7 separate regions of the Homo sapiens genome follow, and regions 1, 2, 3, 4, 5 and 7 are each linked to region 6. The links are contacts of gene promoters, found by promoter capture Hi-C in blood cells and fetal thymus (Javierre and others, 2016). All regions are on one chromosome and are shown on one strand. Each heading gives the region's core, a stretch centred on a gene start or on the middle of the fragment in contact. The rest is flanking DNA. Distances are from core to core; before and after follow the strand shown. Region 1 overlaps UBE2E3 (ubiquitin conjugating enzyme E2 E3). Region 2 has its middle 35 kb from the start of LINC01934. Region 3 overlaps LINC01934 (long intergenic non-protein coding RNA 1934). Region 4 overlaps UBE2E3 (ubiquitin conjugating enzyme E2 E3). Region 5 has its middle 54 kb from the start of LINC01934. Region 6 holds the start of NEUROD1 (neuronal differentiation 1). Region 7 has its middle 14 kb from the start of LINC01934.

Evidence for each region. Contacts are between HindIII fragments. The CHiCAGO score rates a contact against its expected background, and 5 or more counts as called.
Region 1: a contact is called between a fragment that was not itself captured here and the fragment with the promoter of NEUROD1 in region 6, in 1 of 17 cell types (total CD4 T cells). The highest score is 5.4, in total CD4 T cells.
Region 2: a fragment that was not itself captured here is called in contact with the fragment with the promoter of NEUROD1 in region 6 in 8 of 17 cell types (non-activated CD4 T cells, naive CD4 T cells, total B cells and 5 more); the score reaches 8.1 in non-activated CD4 T cells.
Region 3: a fragment that was not itself captured here is called in contact with the fragment with the promoter of NEUROD1 in region 6 in 2 of 17 cell types (M2 macrophages and neutrophils); the score reaches 6.6 in M2 macrophages.
Region 4: a fragment that was not itself captured here is called in contact with the fragment with the promoter of NEUROD1 in region 6 in 1 of 17 cell types (non-activated CD4 T cells); the score reaches 5.0 in non-activated CD4 T cells.
Region 5: a contact is called between a fragment that was not itself captured here and the fragment with the promoter of NEUROD1 in region 6, in 14 of 17 cell types (non-activated CD4 T cells, total CD8 T cells, fetal thymus and 11 more). The highest score is 9.2, in non-activated CD4 T cells.
Region 7: a contact is called between a fragment that was not itself captured here and the fragment with the promoter of NEUROD1 in region 6, in 3 of 17 cell types (M1 macrophages, total B cells and M2 macrophages). The highest score is 5.7, in M1 macrophages.

Annotation. Positions count from the first base shown.
Region 1 is chr2:181,047,916-181,051,046 of GRCh38, reverse strand. The region is part of intron 3 of UBE2E3 (ubiquitin conjugating enzyme E2 E3); the gene reads right to left. Among named protein-coding and RNA genes, the nearest start is that of UBE2E3-DT, 68 kb to the right of the region's middle. The HindIII fragment of the contact is 517 bases long and covers 1,438-1,954 here.
Region 2 is chr2:181,087,554-181,090,288 of GRCh38, reverse strand. No RefSeq gene overlaps it. Among named protein-coding and RNA genes, the nearest start is that of LINC01934, 35 kb to the left of the region's middle. The HindIII fragment of the contact is 984 bases long and covers 768-1,751 here.
Region 3 is chr2:181,128,039-181,131,056 of GRCh38, reverse strand. The region is part of intron 1 of LINC01934 (long intergenic non-protein coding RNA 1934); the gene reads right to left. Among named protein-coding and RNA genes, the nearest start is that of LINC01934, 5.7 kb to the right of the region's middle. The HindIII fragment of the contact is 2,432 bases long and covers 265-2,696 here.
Region 4 is chr2:181,028,244-181,031,071 of GRCh38, reverse strand. The region is part of intron 3 of UBE2E3 (ubiquitin conjugating enzyme E2 E3); the gene reads right to left. Among named protein-coding and RNA genes, the nearest start is that of UBE2E3-DT, 49 kb to the right of the region's middle. The HindIII fragment of the contact is 3,673 bases long and covers 1-2,828 here.
Region 5 is chr2:181,068,686-181,071,835 of GRCh38, reverse strand. No RefSeq gene overlaps it. Among named protein-coding and RNA genes, the nearest start is that of LINC01934, 54 kb to the left of the region's middle. The HindIII fragment of the contact is 267 bases long and covers 1,310-1,576 here.
Region 6 is chr2:181,678,856-181,681,902 of GRCh38, reverse strand. It overlaps NEUROD1 (neuronal differentiation 1), which reads left to right and starts at 1,386. Exons shown (of 2, transcript NM_002500.5): 1 at 1,386-1,473; 2 at 3,032-3,047. The coding sequence starts at 3,043. RefSeq lists an enhancer at 160-736. The HindIII fragment of the contact is 9,386 bases long and covers 1-3,047 here.
Region 7 is chr2:181,107,999-181,111,132 of GRCh38, reverse strand. No RefSeq gene overlaps it. Among named protein-coding and RNA genes, the nearest start is that of LINC01934, 14 kb to the left of the region's middle. The HindIII fragment of the contact is 1,196 bases long and covers 1,020-2,215 here.

The sequences.
Region 1 (3,131 bases), core at 447-2,946, 630 kb after region 6:
AAGGAATGAGACTGGGAAGAAAGTACGAAGAAACTTCAACTATATATAGTTTTATTTCCTTTAAAAAAATGTTCAAGCTAGAATACATGAAAGGATTACTGGATTATTACTCAAGTCTTACCTATTACTGTACGTTGAAACAAGAAAGAAGGAAGTTTCAAAGCACACCAGAGCTCTATTTTACTATTAACATAACTAAAGAAAGAAAGAACATTTTATGGAGTGCCCACTCTTTGCCAGGTGCTTTATATCACATCTAACTCAATAGTAGTAATCCTGTTCGAGTATTTTTATCACAATTTCACAGATGAGAAACCGAGCCAGAAAGGTTAAGTGACTTGCCTAGGGTCGTATATGCAGAGCTAAGATTCTCTTCTAAAATGTCTTCACCACAAATTTGAAAGCAATAAATCCATACAAATATTTTTAATTACCCAGCTCCTGCCAAAAATAAAATGTAAACAGATTCAGAAATAAAGGTATCTAATCACGTACTAAAGGTGATTCTGTAATGGCTTCTACTCTACAGACTTTTAAATGCTTCATATAATTTGGATTATTAATTCTTTGTTCCATCTCTGCTTAAGTGTCTACTCTAAGAGTCCCTCCCAAACTTTAGGATTATATTTCTGAAGAGAATCCCGTTGAACAAAACAGCAGGTGACAAGATGAGTTTTAGAGTCTTTTAGCACTTAGGATGTGGGGATGGGAGGAAAAACAAAATGATATAAAATTCAAGTTTTGAAAGAGTTGAAGAAAACCCACAAGGTATCACCTTCAAAACAAATATGGCCATTTGCATTAAAAATCTATACTAGTATGTAACTCTTGCTTGAAACACCTTCAATAACTGTTCAGGAAATAGTGATCAGAGTATTGCCTTGTAAAGAAGTGGATTCTTTTCCTAAAATTTGTATTAAGCAGATTCTGATATGTAAGTTTTTGAACCATCCCTTACCAGCTTCACATCTTTTACATAAATTACTACAAATGCTTGTGTAACTTATTGGCCTTTTTGTAAATTACTGTGATGCCTGAAAGTAAGATTTTTGAAATCTAGTCTTCATTTCATATATTCAGGGTATGGCAAATAAATATATTTTTTCTTTCTGTCCAGCCCTAACAACCTTATCACATGGCCTACAGAAAAGTAGTAGTATTTCATAGTCTTTTGTTTAAAGGAATTAGATTGAACATAAAAATAAAATGGCTGGGTGTGCGTGCTATATACATACACATAAATTCAGTCTGCAAAACCATCTTCATTGAAGAATTAATAACTATTTCTGGCAGTCAGGTGTACATATAAAAAGACTGATGAAGTAAAAAAACTATGGCATCTGCCTAAAGGCTTCTATCTGCACAGATAATGCAATAATGCTTTCTTGATCTAGTAATTACCATATAGTCTTTCTTCAAAACTATTACTATAAAGCTTGTGCTTTGTCTATCTTAAGGCCTATTATGACAGTCATCATCCAAACGCAGTCAAGTCTATTGTGTATAATCATAAGAAACACTTTGTAAGAGAAGAATTCTGGTACAGGTATTTTTATTGCAAAGTACTGTACACTTATATAAATGTAGATGAAAACATTTCTACAAGTACAACCATACACAAGGTGAAATAATTTAAAAAACACACACAAACACACATCCAAGTCCAGTCAGTTAAACAACATTGTGAATAACTACTATGGACCAGGCACTGGGATGCCAGGATAAACTGTGGGTGTGGTGAAATTAAATATCAACATCTATAAGTATATTGTCTTTAGCCAATACTGTGGTCACAATTTCACACTTAAATCCCTTGTTTTTTATATTCACATTCATTGTGGTGTATAATATCCAACTTAGCTAAAATACCTACACTCAAAAAGCTGCTCTGTCCAGCAGATCCTTGACTTCTCTGCTAATGGTGACATAAAGAATATCTTTATCCTCTGAAGCTTCTTTACTCCCTCAGCTGAAATCTCCAGAAATCTCAACCCATCACCCTTTCTTCTCCTAGTTGCCGCTATTCTCTCAGCTGAGTTCTACTGCCCAAGAGAGGGAGAAAAGGTAATCTTAGCAATGAGTTGTTCATTTTAACAACCTTATCAAGGCGGCTGGGGCTCAGGAAAATCCTTAGGATGCAGAACAAATTTAATTATATGAAGTACATCAAATGCTAAATGGGCATGTGTGAAGTAGGCGGAGAACACAGGTAGCTTCTGTAATATTTTTCTAAAGTAAAGCCAAACCTCTATATTGCTTTCCAAACTTCAAAAACTGTTTATAAGTGAACAGTTGTTATTCCTGAGTGTTTTAGAAAGAATCATATTTATTTAGGTTGAAAGCAATTAGGAGTTCACAATTAGGGAAAGCTATAATACAGACAATTAGGGTGAGAGGAGTGGCTGGGGAAATAACGTAGAAAAATAATTCTACTAACTAAAAGGGCAGACCTAGGTATGTGCTAGTGGTTCCCATGATTTTATCTTCCTACTCCTCTTCCCAAGAATGACCTCGTTTTGGTAAATGTGTGAATTCTTATGTAATCTCTATAACAACCAACCAGGAAATGGTATTGCTTATTAATCCATACTGTGCCTTGTGAACCTATGAATTTACTTTGAATCAAAAAAAGTATTTAAGCTTTAACAATATACAAAATACAGTACTTGTTAGATTCAATAAAGAAAACAAATTCATTCATTCATTAAGGAGTTATTGAGTGTCTACGATTTGGGGCTAGGAATCTGTACAAGAAACTAAATATACAATGGAGATTTCAGCCAAGCTGAGGATATAGATCTTAATCAAATAAACTCACAAAAAAACATAAAACAGAAAACGCTACAAAGGCAAGGTATTCCTTGTTGAATGCCGGGGAAATGTTAGAGAGATAAGGGAAGAGTCAGAGGAAGCAATATTTAAAAGATTATTTCAAATACCCCAGTGGGGGTTTATCAGTAGAAGCTGAAAGGAAAGGGCTGGGAAAGAGGACTTCAAAGCATAGGAAAATGCCCTGAGGCCATCAGGAACAAGTAGCAGGGCCTGGAAGCACAATGTGGCAGAAGGGAAGAGAACATGGGAAGTACAATGAAACGACCTAATGAGGGAAGCTGTAACAAACGTCTAGGCAG
Region 2 (2,735 bases), core at 10-2,509, 590 kb after region 6:
ATTTTCAGCCTTTTTGCGCTGGTTTTTCCTCATCTTCTTGGATTTATTTACCTTTGGTCTTTGCTGTTGGTGACCTTCAGATGAAGTTTTTGTGTTGTCGTCCTTTTTGTTGATGTTGATGCTATTGCTTTCTGTTTGTTAGTTTTCCTTCTAACAGTCAGGCCCCTCTTCTGCAGGTCTGCTGGAGTTTGCTGGGGGTCCACTCCAGACCCTGTTTGCCTGGGTATCACCAGCAGAGGCTGCAGAACAGCAAAGATTGCTGCCTGCTCCTTCCTCTGGAAGCTTCGTCCCAGAGGGGCACCCAGCAGATGCCAGCCAGAGCTCTCCTGTATGAGGTGTCTGTTGATCCCTGCTGGGAGATGTCTCCCAGTCAGGAGGCACGGGGGTCAGGGACCCACTTGAGGAGGCAGTCTGTCCCTTACCACAGCTAGAGCACTGTACTGGGAGATCCGCTGCTCTCTTCAGAGTCAGCAGGCAGGAATGTTTAAGTCTCCTGAAGCTGTGCCCACAGCCGCCCGTTCCCCCAGGTGCTCTGTCCCAGGGAAATGGGAATTTTATCTATAAGCCCCTGACTGGGGCTGCTGCCTTTCTTTCAGAGATGCCCTGCCCAGAGAGGAGGAATCTAGAGAGGCAGCCTGGCTACAGTGGCTTTGTGGCATTGTGGTGGGCTCCAAGTCCAAACTTCCAGGGAGCTTTGTTTACACTGTGAGGGGAAAACCACCTACTCAAGCCTCACTAATGGCAGATGTCCCTCCCTCCACCAAGCTTGAACGTCCCAGGTCTACTTCAGACTGCTGTGCTGCCAGTGAGAATTTTAAGCCAGTGGATCTTAGCCTGCTGGCCTCCGTGGGAGTGGGATCCACTGAGCAAGACCACTTGGCTCCCTGGCTTCAGCCCCCTTTCCAAGGGAGTGAACAGTTCTCTCTTGCTGGCATTCCAGATGCCACTGGGATATGAAAAAAAAATTCCTGCAGCTAGCTTGGTGTCTGCCCAAACAGCCACCCAGTTTTGTGCTTGAAACCCAGGGCCCTGGTGATGAAAGCACCTGATGGAATCTCCTGGTCTGTGTGTTGTGAAGATGTGGGAAAAGCATAGTATCTGGGCCAGAATGCACTGTTCCTCACACACAGTCCCTCATGGCTTCCCTTGGTTAGGGGAGGGAGTTCCCGATCCCTTGTGCTTCCTGGGTGAGGTGACGCCCCACCCTGCTTCTGCTTGCCCTCTGTGGGCTGCACCCACTGTCTAACCAGTCCCAATGAGATGAACCTGGTACCTCAGTTGGAAATGCAGAAATCATCCGCCTTCTGCATTGGTCTCACTGGGAGCTGCAGACCAGAGCTGTTCCTATTCTGACATCTTTCCCAGGATATCCAATCTGATTTCTTACTCCTTCTCAACACACATATTTTCCTACAACTATATTTAAGCACATAATCTACCAAATGCACTTTTTCATATCATGTTATTACTACCATCTTCTCCCATCTTCTGTTCCCCAATTCCTATAAAGGTTCAGCTCAATGGCCCCTTCTTCCAGGAAGCCTTCTTGATTATTCCAGCTTAGAGCTACCTCCTGGCCACCCTAATGTCTTTAGTATATATATATCACTAATTTGATTTCTTATCCCTATCTTTTCACATGTATACATTTTAGGGAAGGCGCTTGTAAATTTACTAAAAGTAACTGAAAACGTCATTGAGTTTCATTGCTTAATGTTATAGAGAAAAATGACAAGGAAGTTGCCTAAGCTTTTCCACTTTTTGGCTGTTTTATGCAGAATTATATATAATAATAAAATCTGGTTAATTTTCATTTCTTTGAGTTTTTAATAATTTTGTGGCACAATGCTTTGGCTAATGCTTGAAAATGGATCTTCACCATAAGCATGGGCTACAAAACATTTAATTTGGGGCAGATAAGACTCAGGCTCTACTAGTGTGTAGAGCATACCCATTGTGCTTATTTATCAAATGCTCAGTGAATTATCTCTTTACAAAGACTCCCGATTAGCACTATGTATAGTTTCCTAGGCACAACGTACTTTTGACTGACGGTTTTCAATCAACATTGCATCCCTTTACACACAGGGAATGAATCAAATTATTCTGTTGCTGTTTCTATAAATGTAAAAATGTAATTTTGGAGCCATAAAGCTGTCTCCACAAACACTTTGTCTTCTTTTTCTTGGTTACTTTTTGTTTCACATCACTTAAGAAATCAGAGTGACCATGGCGTGCTGTGCTCTGTATGGGACATATTTTTGCTTTATTTCATTGGTTGAGTATTGTATTGGAGTACCACTAAACAGCACTATAATAGTGCACTACTTGGGAGAAACATTATTTTTTTGGCTAACTCCATTAAAAATCACTGAAAATTACAAGTACAGAAATTTAAAAAAAGAATAAAGCTATGAAAATGGAACACCAGTGTTTTATGGCATATGAAATGCCCCTCTCACACAAAGCACATAAATGTTTAACCAGCAAGAGGCATCCTTTTAGGAGGCTGTCACTATAGCAGGTATGCTATAGTGGCTGTTACCAAATAAAATGCAGTGGTTGTTACCGAATAAAAATGATGACTTTCTTTTTTGTGTGCCCCATCTCAGGATGTGGAGAAGAAAAATGAACAACAGATGGCTGTAGAGAAACTATTTCTATGGACCTGTTCTTGTCTATTACTCTGGGAGAAATAACTCTGCTGTTGAAAAGCACTATATGGCCACATGGCC
Region 3 (3,018 bases), core at 231-2,730, 550 kb after region 6:
TTTTACATTAATCTTATATTGAACATGCTCTTTAGCTGAAAGTAAACAAAAGTAAATTAAGGTGAAATTTGCAACCAGAGCATACTGCACTATGCTGAAACTTAGAGAAGCTCTGTTTGTAGTATTTGTGATGCTTCACTGTTGTAGATGAAACAGACTTAAAGTGCTGACGCTGAGTTATGAAATCTCTTGGACAAGGTCCGAGATATTCCTATAATGAGGTCCATCTTAGTGGTTAAGGAACCCAGAGGTTTTGGAAAAGCTTTATTCCTAATGGAAGAACATGTCTTATTTTCACAAAGCAACAATAACAAATTTATCTAAATTTTTAATATAATTATTCACTGAACAATTTTTTCATCTAAATCGCAGTTTATGATCAATAAAGCATGTAAAATTTGCATCTATTGGTTATTATATATAGTCACTAAAATTAGCCTGCACCAAGTAATCATTGTTTTTATTTCTGAGAAATATTTTCTTTGCATTTTCTAAACAAAATTTTAGTGCTTATATCTGTCATAATCTGAAATTTCATATAAACCTCAATTTTTACATTTCTATCAATATATTACATGTTTGCATTTGATTTAAAAAACTATGTGTGTGCTTATGGAGAAAGAGACAGAGATAAGGACAGAGAGAAAGAATACAAAAGAGAATGGGGTTAATAGATAATATATAAATTTAAAAATATTCAAGTTAATTTTTTATATGAGATAACTAATGTGTGGATCATAAAATGAAATATTAGAAATTTTGCTACACATAATAAATTTTAAATTATAAAATTTAAAATATGCTTATTTTAAAGATTTCCATATTCATGTATGAAAACATTAGTATACTGTTCATTATGTTTTCCATAGCATGCCTGCTTTTCTTGAGTTCTGTGATCATTTTTACATCTGAATCCTGTGAAAACATTTATCAAGCTCTCTAAATAAAAATTATTTTTATAACTATTCCTCTCTCAGCATTTCTTCTTATTTATACAGTAACAGATAACATTATGATGTAGGATTTTTCTTCTTAGTCACTTTGCAAGCCGGGACCTCTGGCTGGCGACACCCTGCCCAGATCCCACTAGGCCATGCTGGTGTGTCCCAGCTCACTTGTGTTATAGTTTGTACCCACATTCGGTGGTTCCCCAGCTCTTGTACTGCACCCAGGAAAATGAGGATATGCTGGACACCGAAGAGTGAGGAGGACAGAGAAGAATTTTATTGAGCAATGAAACAGCTTTCAGTGGAGAGGGGATGTGGGGGTGGCCCTCCTACCCAAAGGCAGGAAATTTCCTTGTGTGACTTGGTCCAAGGCCTTTTATGGGTTGAGAATGGGGAATGCATACTAATTGGTTTGTGAGTATGCAAAAAAGGTTAAAGTGAAAATACCACTCAAAGGTGGGCAGGACAGTGTAGAAAACCAATTAGGAAAGGGTAGGTATATGTAAAATAGGTGATTGGGGGGATGAATCAGAGGAATGTGCCAAACAGGAAGAGGTGTTCTCAACCTGGTCCAAGGATTTAATTTGTAGCTTGGCTATCAGGCTTTAAACTGTCTTTGACTTGGAGGTGGGGTTTAACCAAAAACACAGCCCTATCTGCCTAGGCATTTGGCTGCCTCCTGCCACTCTCAGTCAGTACATATGTACATTTAAGAAATAAAGACATTGTATTTTGTATTATTTGATGGAGCTTTACTAGAAATAAATTATATGCATTCTGTTTTAACATGAGAACAGAAAATTATAAATCTTAGTGGAGAGACTACAAGTATAGGGTAGGTAGGTCAATGACATTTATAAAGAACATTATCTTTTTAAATTTTTTTATTTTTATTATTATACTTTAAGTTCTAGGGTACATGTGCAGGTTTGTTACATAGGTATACATGTGCCATGTTGGTTTGCTGCACCCATCAACTCATCATTTACATTAGGTATTTCTCCTAACGCTATCCCTCTCCCAGCCCCCCACCCCCCAACAGGCTCCAGTGTGTGATGTTCCTCATCCTGTGTCCATGTTTTCTCATTGTTCAACTCCCACTTATGAGTGAGAACATGTGGTGTTTGGTTTTCTGTCCTTGTGATAGTTTGCTGAGAATGATGGTTTCCAGCTTCATCCATGTCCCTACAAAGGACATGAACTCATCCATTTTTATGGCTGCATAGTATTCCATGGTGTATATGTGCCATATTTTCTTTTTTATTATTATTATACTTTAAGTTTTAGGGTACATGTGCACAACGTGCAGGTTTGTTACATATGTATACATGATCTTAAACAACTGTCCATTAACAAGCCAACAACTGTCCATTAACAAGCCCCTGAGCATACTGCTTGGCGGACACATTTAAAATACAGAGAAGAGCCTGCTAAGACCTTGATTTCAATTACTCTGAAGTTTCTTGTGGGGTAACCTTAGATGTCCATGAGGAAAGGCCATTGTAGTTAGTACATTTTTTATGACTAATAAGATTGAAGTACATTATCTAGTTGAGTTTTAGGTTTCAAGAGTTTAAAAAGGGTAAAGATGTTAAACTTTACTACTAAGCAAAACCCTGGAGTACTAGAGATTCCTCTCTGTAGAAACCTGTCTTGTCAAAAGTTTTTGAGTTGCTGTCTAATATCTATACTTACTTTTATCAGAACATAACTGAAATTACTGTTGCATATTAATAGTGAAAGCAAGCTTCTCAGCTAATCAACAGATGCAAACTTCCCCCATGGTTCTAATAATGTGGGCTTTCAGAATAGTTTTATGATTCAAGAAGTCTAGCTCATTAATTTTGAAAAGGACACTGCAAAACATACACAAACAAAAAACATTTTGCAGAAGAGTTAACTTAAAGGAACAAAAGGAGAAAGCTCATCATGAGTCTGGTGGACTGCTCTTTATGCAAAAGGAGTATTTGTACTTCTTTATTTTCATGTTTCCTTTGAGTTCTGCTGGTTCAGGTTCACATAATCAAAAGACTTCTATCCTAAACAAGTGATTGTCACTGTCCAGCATTTA
Region 4 (2,828 bases), core at 229-2,728, 650 kb after region 6:
TTGTATTACAGAAGAAAAGCTAAAAATTAAGAACCCAATCTAAAAAATTACAAAAAGAACAGCAAAATTAGCTCAAGTAAATAGAAAAGGTAACAAACGTAATAGTATAAACTAGTGAAACACAACACAAACACAAAATAGTGTCAATAAAAACTAAAATTTTTTTTAAATTTTTGGGTCAAGACTAATAAAACATAGAAACCTTGTGACAAGACAGAGAGAAGACAGAAATAACAGACATGAAAAAAATAAATGCTCTAATTCCTAGAAAAATTCAACCTACTAAAAAGAACAGACTAAGTGAATACTGGTTATACAATATAGAGATGGGACTTGTAGTTAATTTCCACCTTTTCCCCACCTTATCCCAAATACAAAACCACCAGGTCCACATAGTTTTACAGGAGACTTCTATCAAATTTCAAGTGAGATCATTCCACTCTTAAAACGCTTCTGAGAATCAAAAATAAAAAATAAAAAAATAATTTTTTTTCTCTGAGGCCAGTATTAAAAACAGGCTAATTAGGTGTAAGAAAAAAAGAAGCCAATCTCAAATCATGAACACACATGTAAGACTCTTAGTAACAAATCATATCCAAGACTGTTCATATTGAAAAAAGATAATATATATTGCCAAATTGGAAATGCAAAGTTAGTCTGACATTAGAAAAATATACACATTCTGAGATGAGATCGTGCCACTGCACTCCAGCCTGGGCGACAGAGCAAGACTCCGTCTCAAAAAATAAATAAATAAATAAATACAAAAGAAAAATATACATATTCAATTTATCATATTAATAGATTAAAGCAAAACCATATGATTATTACTTTAGTAGATAAAGTATTCATTAAAATTTAATGCCCAATGAAGAGTTTACATAAGGCCACCACCACCACCACCAAAGACAACCAAAATACTTTCATGGAAAAATAGAGGAGCCAGGTGTGGTGGCTCACACCTGTAATCGCAGCACTTTGGGAGGCCGAAGCAGGTGGATCATGAGGTCAAGGAATCAAGAAAATCCTGGCCAACATGATGAAACCTGGTCTCTACTAAAAATACAAAAATTAGCCAGGCATGGTGGCGGGCGCCTGTAGTCCCAGCTCGGGAGGCTGAGGAAGGGGAATCACTTGAACCCTGGAGGCAGAGGTTGCAATGAGCCGAGACTGCACCACTGCACCCCCACCTGGCGACAGAGAGAGACTCCGTCTCAAAAAAAAAAAAAAAAGGGACCGAATTAATTGATAAAGAATACCTTTTCAAACACCCACGCCAAACATCAATATTAAAGATGACAAGTTTATACCGCTCCATTTAAAACATGGAACAAGAAAAGAAGCTCAATTATGACTTGGTTGTCCTAGACAGTAAAGTAAGAAACAGAACTTAAAAAAAAAAAAAAAAAAAAGATTGTCTACAGATAAAAATCAAAGAATGTAATGTATAAGCAAATTATTAGAATTAAAAAGAACATTTATACAAGGTTGCTAGATAAAAAACAAGTTTTTAGATAAAACTTACAAAAGCATCAAAAATATTAAACTCCTAGAAATAAATTTAGCAAAAGATGTACAATACTTGAATACAGAAAATTACAAAGCAAAATCAGAATTAAAGAAATCCTAAATAAATGAGGGTGATACAGTATGTTTATGAAAAAGAAAATTCAACATTTTTAAGAATTCTACTTCTAATTTCTCAAATTCAATAAAATTCTAATTAAAACCACAAGAATACTTTTCCAAGGAATTTGATAAGCTGATTCTCATTTTATATGAATGCGTCAGGCAGCTCCTAATGAAAATACAGATACTTGTCCTACTAGATATCAAGACTCATTAGAATTATAGTAATTAAAACTATATCATGTACTATTTGTGCAGAGATAGACAACTTGATGAATAGAATGGAAGAGCCCAACACAGAACTAGGCAAAAAAAGAATCATGAAATGACAGATGGCACTCTAGCCACTGGACTATTCAATAAAGTTACTAAAACAAATAGTTATCCATATGGAGAAAAATGAAATTGGACTACTACCTTACCCTTTTCAAAGAATCAATTCCAAATAAATTTGGAACACTAAGGGCAAGCCTTTGAAAAAAAAATAAAGATATCCTCGAGACCTTGGGACAGAAAGTAATTTCTTAACCATGACACAAAAAGTGCTAATCATATAAGAGACTGATAAATTTAACTACCATTTAAATTCAGTTCTTTTCACTAATATACCATAAAAGAACCAAGTCATTAACAGAGAGAAGATTTTTGCAACATATATGTACAAAAGGCATCTGTATCCACAATACATAAGAACCCCTAATAAAACAAAATTGGGGGCAGGGGGACAAATAACAAAAAAAAGGCATTTCACAGAAATGAGAATGGAAGATAAACATAAAAAAATTGTTCAACCTCATTATTAGGAAATGCAAATTAAAACCATGATGAAATACTATTTTTATACCCATAGATTAGGAAAAATCAAGAAGTCTGAAGATTGTCAGAGTTGATAAACCTGCAGCGCAAAGAGAACTATTGCACTTTGCTGGTGGAAATGTGTATCAGTGTATCACCAATTTGGCATTATCTTGCATGGTTGAATATGCACGTTCTCTGTGAGACTCACCTATTCCACTCTTAGATATACAATGAAAGAATTTACTCACATATTACTAGAACACATGTTCAGTAATCTTCACAGTACGATTGTTCATAGTGACAAAAAACAAAATAAACATGGAACACCCAATATACCCTACTACAATGAATACAAGTATATCCACGTAATAAAATCGTATACAGCATGAAATTTAACTATA
Region 5 (3,150 bases), core at 194-2,693, 610 kb after region 6:
CAATCTTGGGAGGCAAGAAGTCAGGACAATAGCAGGGAAAGGTAAGCAGAAAAAAAGGTGTGAGCCTTGGTCATAAGCTGTGACTGCCTTATGGATTTTCTGGAAATGAAATCTGATCTTCAAATTCCGTACTTCCTGAGTGAGGTACAATCCAAAGGGAGAGAAGGCTTGTAACTGAGTCTTGCCACGGGACCAATGGTGGAAGTGAGGGTCACAGAAATTGGTCACTATGTCCTTCTCTGACCACCACATCCATAAAATAGAACAGGGAAGAATACTCAGTTTTCTAGAGTCATTTTTCCTCTAGCAAACTCAGGGACGTCATCTGCCACACCATCCACTGAGGCTTTTCCAAAGCTCTGTGTAACTCACCTTGGACACCCCTCTTCCTGACTAGACCATGATGACCTCTTTGGGAAACACAGCGTAACTATTTTTGTGTCCAGCATTTAAAGCAGTATTAACTTTCAGCAAATAATTGAATTTCTCTAGTTAAAATTGGTGTCAAGGTAGATTCTTCAATGACTTCAGGAAAATCACTTGAATGAAACAAAAATTAAGGTGCTAAAGATTCAAACAACTGCTAAACCATACCTGATGAAAAAGAGGAGCCATTCGAGCTGATATGGATGTTTTAATTGCATGTTCATTAACATGTTAACTATGAAATAAACGAAAGGCTCATCCAGATAGACAACTCAATCATTCATTTTTACACTTGACCACAAACGACTAGTTACTCTGCTGGACATTAATGGGTCACACAGATGTATGAACTGTCGTCTCCCCATTCTCACTTTCAGCCAATAACATCTCGTTTCATGGAGGAGTAGAAGCTACCAAAGAACTTCCTACGAACCACATCTACCCTCCAATCTCACCTATGCCCATGTCCTCTGCAAATTCACAACAAGGGCCAAACACCTCACTTGTACTAGATCCTATCCCCTCTTGCTTATCTAGGGGAACTCAAGAATTTGGTGAATGACAATGCTGCTGTAAGTGCTGGATGCTGCACTTCCCAAAGAGCTTCTGCTCTAGTCAGGGAGAAAGACAGATGTCCAAGGTAGTGCAGAACTTTGAAAACACCCTGAATAAATTATGTAGCAGATAACTTTTTCAAGGACACTGCTCCTCCTCCCCTACACCATCCACTTCCTCCTCTCTAATCTTTCCTATCAATATACAAACATGCTGTAATTTCTCCCATCTTAAAGAAACTCCAACTACTCCCTACTTCTCTATTTCACTGCAAAATTGTCAGGAGTCTCCAAGTTCTCTATTCCTTGTTACTTTATTCAATCAAGCTTTAATTTCATTGCTCCAACAAAATTGCATATAAAAGTCACCAGTGTCTAGGACTCCTGAGTTGCTAATGGCTATTTAGGTCCTTATTTTATTTGGCTTATCAGTAGTCTCTCATGGGGTAGATCATTCCCACCTCCTTGAAACTTTTTACTTCCCTTTCAGGTTATCACACTCTCCTGATTTTCCTTTCACTTCTTGAGCGTTCCTTCCTGGATTACTTTGCTGACTCATCTCTCCTCAGCCTCCTAATGCTGGGAGTGCCTAAGCTTCTTTCTTCTCTAGCAGCACTCATTCCCTTGAGTGAGTGATCATAGGTCTCACAGCTATAAATACCAACTACACACTCACGTGTCACAAATATACATCCCTGGCCCAGAACTCTTGAATTCCAAATTTGTATATCCAATCTTGCACTTCCATTTGGATGTTTAATAGGCATTTCAAACTTAACCTGTCAAAAACTAAGCTCATAATCTTTCTCCCTATCCTGCTTCACCCTCGAGTTTTTCACCTTGGTTAATGACAACTACAGCCTACTAGTTTGCTCAGGCCCTAAACTCTAACTCCTTTTTCACACCACATATTCAATCTATCAGCAAATCTTCTTAGCTCTATTTTTAACCAGAACCTGACCTTTTCTTACTACTTACACTGCCACCACCCAGGTTGAAGTCACTGGTATCTCTCACCTGGATTACTGCATTAGCCTCCTAACTGGTCCCCCTGCTCCCAATTCCTTAGCCCCACAGCAAGTTTTTCTCTGACTGATCAGATTCTAATAAATCATGTCCTGTTGCTCGTTGGCTAAAAACAGCTTCCAGTGGTGTCCCATCTTATTTAGAATACTAGCCAAACTCCTTAAAATGAAATACAAGACCCTATGTGATCTGCCCACCTGTCATCTTCTTGACCTGGCCTCCTATTCCTCTCCTAGTTGCTCACCTGCTCCAGCCCTCCTAAGCACTTGCTACCTTTTGAATGCATTGGGCATGCTCTTGTTACAAGATTTTTTCAGTTGGTATTCCCTCCGCCTGTAGGACTCTTTTCCTATGTGGCTTATTCCTCACCATCTTCAGCTCTTGACTCATTTTTTAGGTGAGGTCTTCCCCGACTACCCTTGTTATAACTGTAATTCAACCTCCCCTTTCTTTCTCCCTCACTGCACACACTATTTCCCTTCCCTACTTTGTTTTTCTCCATAACACTTACCATCTAACATACATATATGTGTGTGAGAATGTGTGCGTACGCACACACACACACACACATATATATATACACTTTTAAATTTTTTTGGTCTGTCTCCTAGCAATTGAAAGTAAACTCCATAAGGGTAGGAATTTTCGTGTATTTTATTCACTGCTAATCCTAAGCACCCAAACCAATATTCCAGTGTACACAACTAATAACTTACTGAATGAAATAAATTGGATCCCTTATTTCTAGGGGCTCATAATTGAGATGATATACATACACAAGTAAAACATTATATATGTCCTTAAAAAAAAATAACCATGGAAGAAAAAACATGGTGTCTCATGCATATTTAAAATGATCTTCACCATTTGAGAGTTCTGTGACCACAGCAAGAGTTTAGCAGAGGGCTAAAAAGTGCTCTTCAAACGATGATAAAGGAATCAGGTAAGGGGTGCCAGTGAAAGCCCTACAGTGTTATCCCCTCATACTCTTTATCTCATAAATTAATACTCTTCTTCATCACTTTGTAGATGAAAACTTGAAATGCTCATATGAAGACCTAACTACCCCAATCTCAATCACTAGAGAATCCCTGACTTTCCTTACAGACCTGGGCCCCTAGCTGTCAGGACTTAGTACCACACA
Region 6 (3,047 bases), core at 137-2,636:
ATTAATCCTTCCGGGGTTGTGCTAAAGGCGTTTCTAGAAAGAGATCGGAAAGACCCGTTCAGCACAGGCCCATTGCATCTTCTCTTTGAAAACGCTTGTCTGAATCAAGTATCTTATACAGACCCGAGACTGAGGGGAGCAAGAGCGCAGGTCCGGCTGTGGCGAGGTGTCCACCACCGTACTTGTGGTCAATGCCTGGACTAGAGAGCCGAGGCCGTCCAGGGCGGGCTGGCCAGGGAACCAGAAGCGTCCCTGGACTGGCTGAGTGAGGGTGCCCTTTCCAGCAACCCAGTGGCCATGGTTAAAAGGCAGAATACAACCGTCAAAGAAGTCCCCAGCTCCCACATAAGAGAGCGCAAAGGCCAATGGAACCAAGGCCTCCTCGCGAGAACTAGCTCGCTTTGAGGACAAGATCCTGGGGATGGAGGTGGGGACTGACGTAGTGAGAGGGTCTGGAGGAACAGTCGTAGCTGAAGGTCAGGACATGAAGAATTGCACGTATGGTAGGGATAGAATGGCAGGTACAACTTTTCTGTACTGAAGGAACTGGGAGAGGACGATCCGGTTAGGGAGGTTGGGGAACTAATCTCAACGCTGCGTTTACAGATGAAGCCGCTTTTATATGGCGTATATGTTTGCTTAGAGGGGCCGACGGAGATTAGGAGAAGCCATCCTTTGGCGCCAATGATCAAAGCGTCTGCCAAGGAGAAGAAGCCAAGGGATGGGCCTTTCAGAGAGGGCAAGGAGTCATGCTGCTCTGGATGCCAGTGTCAGGACAAGAAATCGAAAGGAGCGAGGACTCTTCACTGCGTGCCTCAGTCTCCCCGCTTCTGCCTCTTTCACCTCTGTCCTACTTCCGGCGCGAAAGCAGGCCACTCGCTCTGATCTAGACCTAGTTAACATTAGCTTTTCCCTTCCTTCCCTCAAATCCCCTCCCCCCTCTATCCCCGTCCCTTCTGCCGCCTGAAAGGGTTAATCTCTCCTGCGGGTAAAAACAGGTCCGCGGAGTCTCTAACTGGCGACAGATGGGCCACTTTCTTCTGGCCACAAAGGGGCCGGAATGGAGCGCTCCGCGGCATACAAATGGGCAGGTCACGTGGTTCCAGGCTCTTGGCTGGACCGGGAAGACCATATGGCGCATGCCGGGGAGGAAGGAGGAGGGGCGGGGGTAGGGGTGGAGGGTGAGGGGAGCGGTTGTCGGAGGAGGGCGGGAGACGAGCAAGGCGTGGGGAGAAGTGGGGAGGAGGGGAGAACGGGGAGCGCACAGCCTGGACGCGTGCGCAGGCGTCAGGCGCATAGACCTGCTAGCCCCTCAGCTAGCGGCCCCGCCCGCGCTTAGCATCACTAACTGGGCTATATAACCTGAGCGCCCGCGCGGCCACGACACGAGGAATTCGCCCACGCAGGAGGCGCGGCGTCCGGAGGCCCCAGGGTTATGAGACTATCACTGCTCAGGACCTACTAACAACAAAGGTAATTACAGTTCTTTCATTTTTTTGCCCCAGAATAGAAGCAATAACTGAAGACTGATGAACCTACATATTCTGTATGTGTGCGTTTGCGAGAGTGTGTATGTGTATTGAGACCAGCATCCCCCTCCATAATTGCCCATAAGTACTCACACATAATGAGTCGTGTCACTCAAGTACCCCCTGCAGGCTTTCTAATTTAAATTTTAAAAATTTGGGTTTCTTTTGTGGATAGCATAGGAGCTTCTTGGATTTTTTAAAAGAATGCACGGTAACTATGATTATCTGCTAGTGCTGATTTTAAAGTCCCAAAAGCAATAATGACTTCACTTTCTCACTTCTTACAGTAAGAAAAAAAAATCTATGTTATCAATATATATTTTGTGTGCATGTATTTTACGCACATTGGGAGTGTCAAGCTGTGTTTTCAGTGAATGAAAGGGACATGGATACCTTGAGTATTCACACCATGGAAAATAAATCAGGTTCAGAGATAGTTTAGTTGAGAGGGGGGAAAGTGGAGAAAGGGAGAGGGACTCACTCCTGCTACCTGTTACCGCTCCAGAGGCGGCCAAGTCCCCAGCAGCCACTACTGGAGCCAGAAATTCAGTTGTTTTACTAAAGGCTTTTTATTTTCCTTACTAGAAGCGGCAACTTCGCGGTTGCCAATCGCTGACCATTATAATTACTCAATCTTTTAAAGGGAGGTTTGAGGCGAACTTTGAAAAGCCCCAATAAAGAGCGGGCGGCCCTTTCAATGGGCTGTTTATTAGAGAGGAGCCTTCCGCACCTGATCCCCGGCGCGTGGGAGAGCGCTCTGCGCCGCGCCCCCAGCCCTCGCCCTGCAGCTAGCGCTTTTGTACAAGGTGGAAATTTAGCGGTGGGCCAGAGATGGAAGGCAAGAAAAGAAAGGCGAGGGAGGGGTGGAAGACCCTGTCCACTTTTGTTGCCAAATGTTACATTGATGGTGAAACAATTTGGTGGAAACTATTTTTCCTCCTTTCTGCATTTGCTTTTCAGTATCCCGTCGATGTAATCTTCTTAAAAATCGCTGCCAGTATTAGTAAATTACGCAATGGCTGTTCAACTTAAATCGCTAAGTATCTGGAAGCCAGGACAGAAATGGAAGTAGAATGTGTGATTTTACAGCTTTTTTTTTTTTTTATGGAGTTGTGAGTAACTTTGAACACATTTGGATAAACATGAAGTCGCTGAAATGTACAGTCATTTCCACACACATTATCCTGTCGGGCAACCACCATAAACACATTTAAGTTAATCACTAGGATACAAACACATATGCGTGAGTGGTGTACACATATACATATTCACTACCCTCCCCCAGTCCTGTCCTCACTCCTACGTACTAGCGGGGCACACGCACGCGCCATTATAAAACACTGCATTTAACTTTTTCTCAGAGGCATTCATTTTGTAATGGGCAGGTACTTTTCGCAAGCATTTGTACAGGTTTAGGGAGTGGAAGCTGAAGGCGTATCTGGCTTTTGAATATAGCGTTTTTCTGCTTTTCTTTCTGTTTGCCTCTCCCTTGTTGAATGTAGGAAATCGAAACATGAC
Region 7 (3,134 bases), core at 368-2,867, 570 kb after region 6:
ATCTGCGGAGGCAGTCTTAAGGGCCCAATGAGCAAAGGTACCTTGTCTATGATTGTCATAAGGTTACACAGCACTGGCGCCTTAAATTCTTTCAAACCTGTGAGGGGAAGTATCCCTGTGTGGAGGACTTGACTTCACAGGAGGACAGAAGCCAGTTGAGATCCTGTGATTCAAAATGATGCATTTGCCAGGTGTGGTGGCTTACACCTGTAATCCCAGCATTTTGGGAGGCCAAGGTGGGAGTATCACCTAAGCTCAGGAATTTGAGACCAGCCTGGCAACCATAGTGAGAATTCATCTCTACAAAAATCTTAAAAAATTAGCCAGGCATGGTGGTGCGCATCAGTAGCCCCAGCTAGTTGAGAGGTTAATATGGGAGGATAGCTTAAGCATGGGAAGCTGCAGTGCGCTTTGATCACGCCAATGCACTCCAGCCTGGATGACAGAGCAAAATTCTGTCTCAAGCAAAAACAAAAACCAATGCATTTGAGGAGGTCACCATTCCCTCAATATTACTCTTATTGACTTCCGACCACATGGTGTCTTCATTTCCTTGTGTTGGATTACAAAAACTGAGAGGAAGATAACAGAAAGATGATTGAAGTACATAAAGCCACTACAGATAAACTTCATTTTCTCACAATCTTGTCTGGGACTTCTCTTGATTATGAAGACATAACTCTGTAGATAAAAATGTAAACAGCCTTTCTCCATTAAGATTACCTCCTTTTTTTCTCATATTTAAGGTCCAATAAATTAAATGTATTTTGAAAAAAACTGGCATATATAAAAACATTTTACTAGCTGGATTTGTATCTACTTATTGACTTTCACTGTAATTTTAGGATTCAAAAAATATAAATCCTAAAAGTTAATTTAAATATCACCTGTGAGAATATGAGTGTTTACCTCTACATGCTTGGGATGAGAAAATCTTGCCTTTAGCCACTGCATCACCATCAGTATCCCATTGCTACTTCTAGAGTCTAGAATCTAGACCACTCATCTTTCTCTAAGCTTTGAGTGCCATATTATCATACATTATCACCACTCCTCTCCCTGTGGATCATCAACCAACTATTGGGTCATTTCCCATCATTGTTTGAATAATCATTCCCAACCAGCTCTGAAAACCCCATATCCTAAATTAGATTTCAGATGTTATCCAATCCTTTTTAACAAGTCTTCCTTCCTCTTTTAATAAAACTTGATGATATCTACTTATTTCAGCTCCTCCACAAAAGCATTCCATAATCCTTCTAGCCCAGTGATTTTCAAACTTCACTTTGGATCACTTGGGCACTTCAATAAAATGCAGACTTTGATTCAGTATATCTGGATGGAGCCTAAAATTATTTATTTCTGAAGCTCTTAGGTGATGCCAATGCTCCTGGTTCTCAGACAAACGTGGAGGAACAAAGTTCTAGCCTACCATGGTATCAACTTACTCTAAATTCATATAAGGCAGGCAGGCACCATATATGATTTATTCATCTTTGTATCTCCAGTGAGTCAGAATGCTTGACATATCACAATGCTCAATAAATATAAATGTTTGCTAAATAAATTGATGGACTGAATGAATAAATGTGTAACATTCTCTCTGACACTTAGAAAATTCTACTTAAGACAGATTGTTTTTTCTTTTTTTGAGACAGAGTCTCGCTCTGTCACCCAGACTGGAGTGCAGTGGCATAATCTCTGCTCATAGTAACCTCCCCTTCCCCGGTTCAAGAGATTCTCCATGTCTCAGCCATCAGAGTGGCTGAGGTTATAGGTGTGTGCCACCACACCCGGCTAATTTTTGTATTTTTAGTAGAGACAGGGTTTTGCCATGTTGGCCAGGCTAGTCTCTAATTCCTGAGCTCAAGTGATTCACCTACCTCAGCCTCCCACAGTGCTGGGATTACAGGCATCAGCCACCACATCCAGCCCAGACAGAATATTTTTATATGCACTTTTTCTTTGAAATGTAGTTGAGGGCAGGTATGCTCTACATTTCTCTGTATCTTTAAAGGCCGGTATGTGCCGTTTGTGCCCACAGAAAATAGGCACTCAATATAAATATTGACTAAACAATCAATTAATAAAAGGATTGATGGGATTGATTGAATAAGTAACTGGAAAAGAAGGGGCATCAGGTATAGTCTGCACTTGAGGTACCTAGAAGGTATGAATCATTTAACAAGGTGGCTGTACTTACAGACAGAAAGCTTCAAGTCCAGCATAGGCAGAGCTAGAGAGCAGAAATACTAAAATGAGTAACCAGGAAAAATGCATTTTGTAGACACAGACACACTCTAACGAGAAAATTACTTCAGTTAGTTAAAATGCCAAGCCAGTGGTTGATATGCTTGGGAATAAAACCAAGCATTATTGCATGGGTAGGCAGATGGTGCTTTTTTTTTCCTTAATTCAAAGCTTCATTTTTGTAAATAACAATGGAAATTGAACAACTGGCGAATATTAAGCTTTACAGACTATGTTAAGAGTTTTCAGAAGTGAATTTCCTCAACAATTTCTGCCTTTGGCATATTTAAATGTATACTGACTTGTGGTATTATTCATTCAATATTTCACATCTATGTGTTATCTTCACAACTGGGCTGTAGCCACCCAGAAATAGGGACTTTATTCATGCACATGGTGGGCACACAGTGATACCTGCTGAAAAAATAAAAAATTAGAAAAACTTGGATGACACACAACTCTAGTTTCTGGTATTGAGCAGAGACGAGCAAGGGTGGGCCTGGAAGTGAAATCTGAGGCATGTTACTTGAGTGAATTATCAGACTGGAGAAGAAAACTCCATGTACATTAGATATGAACTTCTTTCTTTCTTTTTTTTCCCATTATATTCTCAGAAGATGAACTAACGTAGAATTCTGGCAATGACTGGTTCTTTAAAAATAGCATATCATGTAAATAAATGAAAACTATAGTGCCCCTGAAGTTTTCAGAATCATTTCACCAAACATTGATTTTGCCACCAAATTACAAGTAAGCCAGATGCAAATAATTTATCAGTAGGAGCAATAAGAGAGATTATGTTATGACTATATTTTATTTGTCAGAAAAGTAACTAAGGTGTTGACTCTGAGATAGGGAATACACACACACACACACACACACAC